Regions from separate parts of the Homo sapiens genome. Here all the other regions are linked to region 1. Evidence: promoter capture Hi-C in 16 types of primary human blood cells and fetal thymus (Javierre and others, 2016). All regions are on one chromosome and are shown on one strand. Each heading gives the region's core, a stretch centred on a gene start or on the middle of the fragment in contact. The rest is flanking DNA. Distances are from core to core; before and after follow the strand shown.

Region 1 (2,700 bases), core at 185-2,684:
TTACGGACAGACCGAGTGACAGAGTGCTGTGGCAGTTTGGGGAAGAGGCCGCTCAAGGATTAGAGAAGGCTCCATGCAGTAGGTGGGACAGCAGCGTGGTGCTGGATGCGCAGGGTTGGGAAGGAAAAAGAAAAGGGAAGACCTTCCAAATTGGTGACTGCCGGCTGGGCAGGCAGTGCTGATGGAGTGAGGAAGGGAAGGGTCAAAAGGGCCAAGGTTGATTAGTGGGTGCTGAACTGCGCATATCTTGAATGGCAGATCCAGTGAGTGTGACTGTATTCTGTGAGCATGGGTAGGGACTACAGAGTGTTCACGCTGGAGGTTCTTTTTTTTAGGCAATTTTTTTAAAGTACGCATTTATTTTAGAGATGCATCTGGCTATGTTGACCAAGCTGGAGTGCAGTGGCTATTCACATCCCGGATCGCACACTACAGCCTGTAACTTCTGGGCTCACGCGATCCTCTGCCTCAGCCTCCCAAGCACTTGGGACTACAGGCTCACTGGCGCGCCCAGACTCATCGGAGGTTCTTAGAGCAGTAAGATGATGGGTGCTGAGATTTAGGATTTTTACAATAGACAAGGCAAGCTGATGGGTTGGTGGCTACGGGTTAATTCCCTAGTGACCTGCATCATTATCTTTTGGGAAAACTGCTGTTTGGGGTCTTCCTGGGGACAGCACAGGGCACTCTACCTTAGGGCTACTTCTTCGTGTACATTTTGCAAGGCTTCCCGGATGTGCTTGGGGACCGGCCTGGCTGTGGTGACACAGCCGTTGGTCTGGAGGTCTGCCGATCTCTTCAGCACCTGCCCGTAGTAGGTCTGACCCAGCGTCCCACAGTGGAGTGAGGGGTAGAGAGGGAGAAGAGCTGTGACTGCAGCGCGAGGGCTCCGTCACCACCTCCACCTCCACTTGGCCGACCTCAGTTCCCTGGAAAGGTCGAAGCCTAGACCCTGCCCTACCCCGACTCCAGGAGTCCCGGGGGACAGGGTGCGGGCCAGGCCAGACTTCCATTAGCCTAGGCTCCACTTGGGCCATTCCAGGCCCTACAGCTCTCACCTGCACGTCCTTCTGTATCTCAGCGTCACGAAGTGCAGCCACTGTCGGGAGCGGGAAAGTTAGTTGAAAGGAGAGGGTGCTGAGGGACGGGCATGAGGGAGGGGGCCAGTAAAGGGCAGGCAGCGGGCCGAGGGGTGAGGGGAGGACAAAGGTCTCGAGACACAGCTCGGGGGAGGCGCTCGCGTTCCCGCCTTGCGGGGGCCCAGGGAAGGGGCTGGGGGCTGGGGCGGGGCGCCCAGGGCGCGCACTCACTGTCTCCTCGGCCTGCGACTCAGGGCGCGCACTCACTGTCTCCTCGGCCTGCGACTCAGGGCGCGCACTCACTGTCTCCTCGGCCTGCGACTCAGGACGGCGGGCTCCCGCAGCCAGCTCCTGTGCCGAGGCCCCGCCCAGGCTGGCAGGCTTGCTCCGCCCGCCCATCCCGCTCTAGCCCCTCGCTCAGGCGCCCACCGCCTGACCCGCTGTTCCACTGTCATCCGCGCTGCTCTACAGGCTTTCCAACCAGGAGGTCGGTATCAGCATCCCCCTTGTTCGCTCCACTGCGATTTTCACGGATAAATCTCGTACTCTGATTTAAATGAACACTCACCTATATAATGATCTTCCCCCCTCCCCCTTTTTGGGAATAGAATCATCTTTTCTCGATCTGTTTTTTGAAGTCAAGTTTGTTGAGATATAATTCACATTCCGTGAAATCCATCTTTCTTCAGTGTGCAGTTCTGTGAACTCTGGCAAACGTATATACATCACCAAAACGGAGACCAAAATAGCTCTGGCCCACAAGTTTCTTCGTGCCTCTTTGTAGTAAATTCCCTCTTCCCACCCCTAGCTCCTGGGCAACCACAGATGTTTTCCCTCCCTATAGTTCTGCCTTTTCTAGAATGTCACATAGAGGGAACCATTAACAGTATGTAGCTGTTCCCAGTCTATTTTGGGTTGTATTTAGGAAAGCAACTTTGCTAAATTTATTTTCACCTATAGTAATTTTTGGTCAAGTCACATGTATTTTCCAGGTATTGTCACTTCATCTTGCAGAAAGTTTTTTTTTTAATTTTTAAATTTTTTTGAGACGGTCTCTGTTACCCAGGCCCAACCTCCTGGCTCAAGCGATCCTCCCGCCTCAGCCTCCCAAGTACCTTGGATTACAGGCGTGCACCACCACACCTGGTTAATTTTTGTATTTTTTTATAGAGACGGGATTTCACCATGTTGTCCAGGCTGGTCTCCAACTCCTGGGTTCAAGCAATCCGCCCGCCTCAGCCTCCCAAAGTGTTTGGATTACAGGCATGAGCCACAGTGCCAGGCCCAAAAGTATTTTTTGTTTTTTTAAATATGGAACACTTCACGAATTTGTATGTCATCTTGCGCAGGGGCCATGCAAATCTTCTCTATCATTCCAACTATATGTGCTGCCGAAGCGAGCACCCAAAAGTATTTTTAAATTATTTATTTTTACTTCCACAATTATATGTGTATATCTTGTTTCCCTTTGTGGTTGTAACAAGCATTTCTCTTTTTATAATTTAAATTAAAAAAAAATTTTTAGAGACAGGGTCTCAACTCTGTGGCCCAAGCTTAGCGTCACTGCGCAATCATCTCTGGATCCTTCAACTCTGGCCTCAAGCCATCCTCCCTCCTCAGC
Region 2 (2,700 bases), core at 42-2,541, 390 kb before region 1:
TGCAGTGGCAGGATCTCGGCTCGCTGCAAGCTCCGCCTCCTGGGTTCACACTATTCTCCTGCCTCAGCCTCCAGAGTAGCTGGGACTACAGGCACCCACCACCACGCCCGGCTAATTTTTTGTATTTTTAGTAGAGATGGGGTTTCACTGTGTTAGCCAGGGTGGTCTTGATCTCCTGACCTCATGATCCACCTGCCTCAGCCTCCCAAAGTGCTGGGATTACAGGTGTGATCTACCACGCCCGGCCCCCAGTCATATCTTAAAGCTCCAAAATGATCTCCTTTGACTCTGTGACTCACTTCCAGGACATGCTGATGCGAGAGGTAGGCTCCCATGGCTTTGGGAAGCTCTGCCTCTGTGGTTTTGCAGGGTATATCCGCCCTCTTGGCTGCTTTCACAGGCTGATGTTGAATGTCCGATTTTTCCAGGTGCAAAGTGCAAGCTGTCGGTTGATCTATTCTGGAGTCTGGAGGATGGTGGCCCTCTTCTCACAGCTCCACTAGGTGGTGCTCCAGCAGGGACTCTACATGGGGGCTTGGACCCCACATTTCCCTTCTGCACTGTCCTAGAAGAGGTTCTCCATGAGGGCCCCGCCCCTGCAGCAAACTTCTGCCTGGGCATTCAGACATTTCCATACATTTTCTGAAATCTAGGCAGAGGTTCCCAAACCTCAATTCTTGACTTCTGTTCACCTGCAGGCTCAACACCACGTAGAAGCTGCCAGGGCTTGGGGCTTCCACCCTCTAAAGCAACAACCTGAGCTGCAACTTGGCCCCTTTTAGTCACAGCTGCAGCAGCTGGGTTGCAGGGCACAAAGTCCCTAGACTGCACACATCAGAGGGACCCTGGGCCTGGCCCACTAAACTATTTTTTTTCTCCTAAACCTCCAGGCCTGTGATTGGGGGTGGGGGGTCTGCTGTGAGGACCTCTGACCTGCCCTGGAGACATTTTTCCCACTGTCAGAGATTAATATTAGGCTCCTTATTACTTAAGCAAATTTCTGCAGCTGGCTTGAATTGCTCCTCAGAAAATGGGTTTTTCTTCTTTATTGCTTGTCAGACTACAAATTTTGCAAACTTTTATGCTCTGTTTCCCTTTTAAAACTGAATGCTTTTAACAACACCCAAGTCACCTCTTGAATGCTTTGCTGCTTAGAAATTTCTTCTGCCAGAAACCCTAAATCACCTTTCTCAAGTTCAAAGTTCCACAAATCTCCAGGGCAGGGGCAAAATGCCACCAGTCTCTTTGCTAAAACATAACAAGAGTCACCTTTGCTCTAGTTCCCAATAACTTCCTCATCTCCATCTGAGACCATCTCAGCCTGGATTTCATTGTCCATATCATTATCAGCATATTGGTCAAAGCCATTCAACAAGTCTCTAGGGAGTTCCAAACTTTCCCACATTTTCCTGTCTTCTTCTGAGCCCTCCAAATTATTCCAACCTCTGCCTGTTACCCAGTTCCAAAGTTGCTTCCACATTTTCGGGTATCTTTTCAGTAGCACCCCACTCTCGGTACCAATTTACTGTATTAGTCCATTTTCACACTGCTGATAAAGACATACCCGAGACTGGACAATTTACTAAAGAAAGAGGTTTATTGGACTTACAGTTTCACATGGGTGGGGAGGCCTCACAATCATGGCGGAAGGTAAAAGGCATGTCTCACATGGCAGCAGACAAGAGTGGAGAGCTTGTTCAGGGAAACTCCCATTTTTTAAAACCATCAGATCTTGTGAGACTTACTCATTATCATCAGAACAGCACAAGAAAGACCCACCCCCATGATTCAATCACCTCCCACCATGTTCCTCCCATAACATGTGGGAATTCAAGATGAGATTTGGGTGGGGGCAGAGCCAAGCCATATCAAATATCTACTGGCAACATGTAGAATGTGTATTAAAATGCAGAATATGGGCCAGGCATGGTGGCTCATGCCTGTAATCCCAGCACTTTGGGAGGCCGAGGCAGGCAGATCACCTGAGGTCGGGAGTTTGAGACCAGCCTGGCCAACATGGTGAAACCCTGTCTCTACTAAAAAAAAAAAACAGAATTAGCCAGGCGTGGTGGCACATGCCTGTAATCCCGGCTACTTGGGAGGCTGAGGCAGGAGAATCACTTGAACCCAGGAGGCAGAGGTTGCAGTGAGCCGAGATCACGCCATTGCACTCCAGCCTGGGCAACAAGACCGAAACTCCGTCTCAAAAAAAAAAAAAAAATGCAGAATATGTGTGTGTTAAAATCTGCATCCAAGGTTGACATCTAAAGACTATTTGGAAAGCCTTGTGCAGTAAGGGAGGGGAGGGGGTTACAAAGATGTAATATGTAAAGCACAGCCCCTGCCCTTCATTGGGTGGTGGGAGGAAATGTGTGAAAGAAGCAGTCTGCTTAGAACAGCAAGGGAGTCCTTAACGTGGCTTTCTGGGGACAACAGAAAAAGGAATTTGGCTATGTGGGCTGGTCCTGGTGCAATCCTTCTTTATAAGAAGTGTTATGACTTAGACCCCACTGGTTTCACTTGTAGTGCTATAGGGGGCCCCTGGTGGGCCCAAAACACAGACAGAGGAGAAAAAAGGTAGGACCAGAAAAAAAGAAGGAAAGTGGGAAGGAAAGAAAGTGAAGAAGAAAGTGAGAGTAAAGGATGTGCATTACCAAAGAATCTAGCATTTACATCCTACTTCCTAATATAAACAACATT
Region 3 (2,700 bases), core at 90-2,589, 450 kb before region 1:
CTGTTTTTGCCCAGGATGGAGTGCAATGGTGCGATGATGTCGGCTCACCGCAACCTCCGCCTCCTGGGTTCAAGCGATTATCCTGCCTCAGCCTCCTGAGTAGCTGGGATTACAGGCATGCGCCACCATGCCTGGCTAATTTTCTAGTTTTTTTAGTAGACAGAGTTTCTCCATGTTGGCCAGGCTGGTCTTGAACTCCCAGCCTCAGGCAATCTGCCCACCTCGGCCTCCCAAAGTGCTGGGATTACAAGTGTGAGCCACCGCGCCCGGCCATCATGTGTTCTTAAGAAAGATTTAAGTTCATTTAAAATTTAGAGATCAATAATTATCCAAATATGTTTCTTTCTCATAGAGACTCCAGTGTCTCAGGGTTACTGTGGTTGATTTAGTGGTATTTACTCTTTGATGTCTTATTGTATTTTGCTTTGTTTGATATTCAGACCTTATTTTGCTTTTATGAGATGAAATTTAGAACATACACCTCACATTGATCACTAAAAATTCTTCTATAAGATGTGATATTTGATTTTGTTAATCCTGCCATAACTAATTCCATCTTAAAAGTTAGGCTGGCCAGGCATGGTGGCTCATACCTGTAATCTCAGCATTTTGGGAGGCTGAGGCGGGCGGATCACGAGGTCAAGAGATGGAGACCATCCTGGCCCACATGGTGAAACCCCATCTCTACTAAAAATACAAAAATTAGCTGGGCATGGTGGTATGCACCTGTATAGTCCCAGCTACTCGGGAAGATGAGGCAGGAGAATCACATGAATCCAGGAGGTGGAGGTTGCGGTGAGCCGAGATCGCACCACTGCACTACAGCCTGGCGACAGAGCAAGACTCCATCTCAAAAAAGTTAGGTTATTATTATTACTTATTTGGTGTATGATATTAAGCCTTCTATTAAATTTAGTTTCCAAATAATTTTTTAAGGACTAATATATGATGTTTCCATACCATTTATTATATATTGTTACTAAATTGAGGGTCTATGTATTTGACCTTAGGAGTACAAAGATGAGACAAAATTCATGCCATCAGGGGACTCAGAATTTTGTAGGAAAGATATATAAGTAAACAACTAACTAACAATAGGATGTAATGAATGCAACAGTGGAGATAACACAAAAGTGAATGATTTAACTCAGGAATGGGTTTGAAGAACAAATAGGAATTTGCCAGACACAGAAAAAAAGAACTTAGTAGCAAAGAAGAGTATGTATGGCCAGGTCCGGTGGCTCACGCTTGTAATCCCAGCACTTTGGGAGGCCGAGGCGGGCACATCACAAGGTCAAGAGATCGAGACCATCCTGGCCAACATGGTGAAACCCCGTCTCTACTAAAAATACAAAAAAAAAATTAGCTGGGCATGGTGGTACGCCTGTAGTCTCAGCTACTCAGGAGGCTGAGGCAGGAGAATCGCTTGAACCCAGGAGGCGGAGGTGGCAGTGAGCCGAGATCCCACCACTGCATTCCAGCCTGGGCGGCAGAGTGAGACTCCATCTCGAAAAGAAGAGTATGTATGATCAAAGGAATGAGCCAGTGTGGCTTATCAAAGCACACTGATTGAAAAATCTTAACTTGGAAGCTCTAGCATGATCTTGCTTTTAAAAAGATGAGGACTTTTTCTCCTTTTAATAAGACTACTTTCATGGTCTGATTTCTGCTCTGAGATTCAAAAATATTTTTGTTATCTCTTCTTGATACTCCAGAGGGTAAGATATTATGCACAAAAGAGTTAACGTATCAGCCTTGAGGCTGCTGTCGTTAGAAGGGCCTGCTTACAAAGCTGGCCTTTGGCTATCGAGGAACTAGGCCTGCAAAAAGTTTCCTACACTAATGTGAAAAGTTTTCTAACTGCAATTTGGTAGTTGTTAGACAGCGAGTGCCAACAAAACCAACTTTTTTTTTCTTTTTTCTTTTTTTTTTTCAGACAGAGTCTCGCTCTGTCGCCCAGGCTGGAGTGCAGTGGTGCCATCTCAGCTCACTGCAGCCTCTGCCTCCCAGGTTCAAGCCATTCTCTGCCTCAGCCTCCTGAGTAGCTGGGATTACAGGCGACCGCCACCATGCCCGGCTAATTTTTTTGTATTTTTGGTAGAGACAGGGTTTTACCATCTTGGCCAGGCTGGTCTTGAACTGCTGACCTTGTGATCCGCCTGCCTCAGCCTCCCAAAGTGCTAGGATTACAGGTGTGCGCCACCGCACCCGCACTTTTTTCTTTTTTTTTTTTTGAGATGGAGTCTCCCTCTGTTACCCAGGCTAGAGTGCAGTGGCGCGATCTCGGTTCACTACAACTTCTGACTCCCAGGTTTGAGTGATCCTCCTGCCTCAGCCTCCTGAGTAGCTGGGATTACAGGTGTCTGCCACCACACCCAGCTTATTTTTGTATTTTTTGTAGAGACAGGGTTTTGCCATGTTGGCCAAGCTGGTCTCGAACTCCTGACCTCAGGTGATCTGCCCGTCTCGGCCTCCCAAAGTGCTGGGATTACAGGCGTGAGCCACCGCACCCAGTTGATCCCATTTTTTTTAAAGCAAAAAATGAATAACAGAAAAACCCACATGCACACATAGTGTTCTAGGACCATACACATCAAACTCTTAGAAACTGACCAACCCCAGCTGGGTGCGGTGGCTCATGCCTGTAATCCCAGCACTTTGGGAGGCTGAAGTGGGCGGATTGCCTGAGTTCGGGAGTTC

Evidence for each region. Contacts are between HindIII fragments. The CHiCAGO score rates a contact against its expected background, and 5 or more counts as called.
Region 2: a contact is called between a fragment that was not itself captured here and the fragment with the promoter of AS3MT in region 1, in 1 of 17 cell types (erythroblasts). The highest score is 7.6, in erythroblasts.
Region 3: a fragment that was not itself captured here is called in contact with the fragment with the promoter of AS3MT in region 1 in 4 of 17 cell types (erythroblasts, M0 macrophages, M1 macrophages and 1 more); the score reaches 7.4 in erythroblasts.

What each region holds. Positions count from the first base shown.
Region 1 is chr10:102,868,204-102,870,903 of GRCh38, reverse strand. It overlaps AS3MT (arsenite methyltransferase), which reads right to left and starts at 1,434. Exons shown (of 11, transcript NM_020682.4): 1 at 1,311-1,434; 2 at 1,059-1,099; 3 at 693-820. The coding sequence starts at 1,311. It overlaps BORCS7-ASMT (BORCS7-ASMT readthrough (NMD candidate)), which reads right to left. Exons shown (of 15, transcript NR_037644.1): 6 at 1,059-1,099; 7 at 693-820. It also overlaps the pseudogene LOC124902567. The HindIII fragment of the contact is 4,429 bases long and covers 1-2,634 here.
Region 2 is chr10:103,257,939-103,260,638 of GRCh38, reverse strand. No RefSeq gene overlaps it. Among named protein-coding and RNA genes, the nearest start is that of RPEL1, 13 kb to the right of the region's middle. The HindIII fragment of the contact is 4,680 bases long and covers 1-2,700 here.
Region 3 is chr10:103,317,977-103,320,676 of GRCh38, reverse strand. All of the region lies in intron 8 of PCGF6 (polycomb group ring finger 6), which reads left to right. Among named protein-coding and RNA genes, the nearest start is that of PCGF6, 32 kb to the left of the region's middle. The HindIII fragment of the contact is 3,787 bases long and covers 1-2,700 here.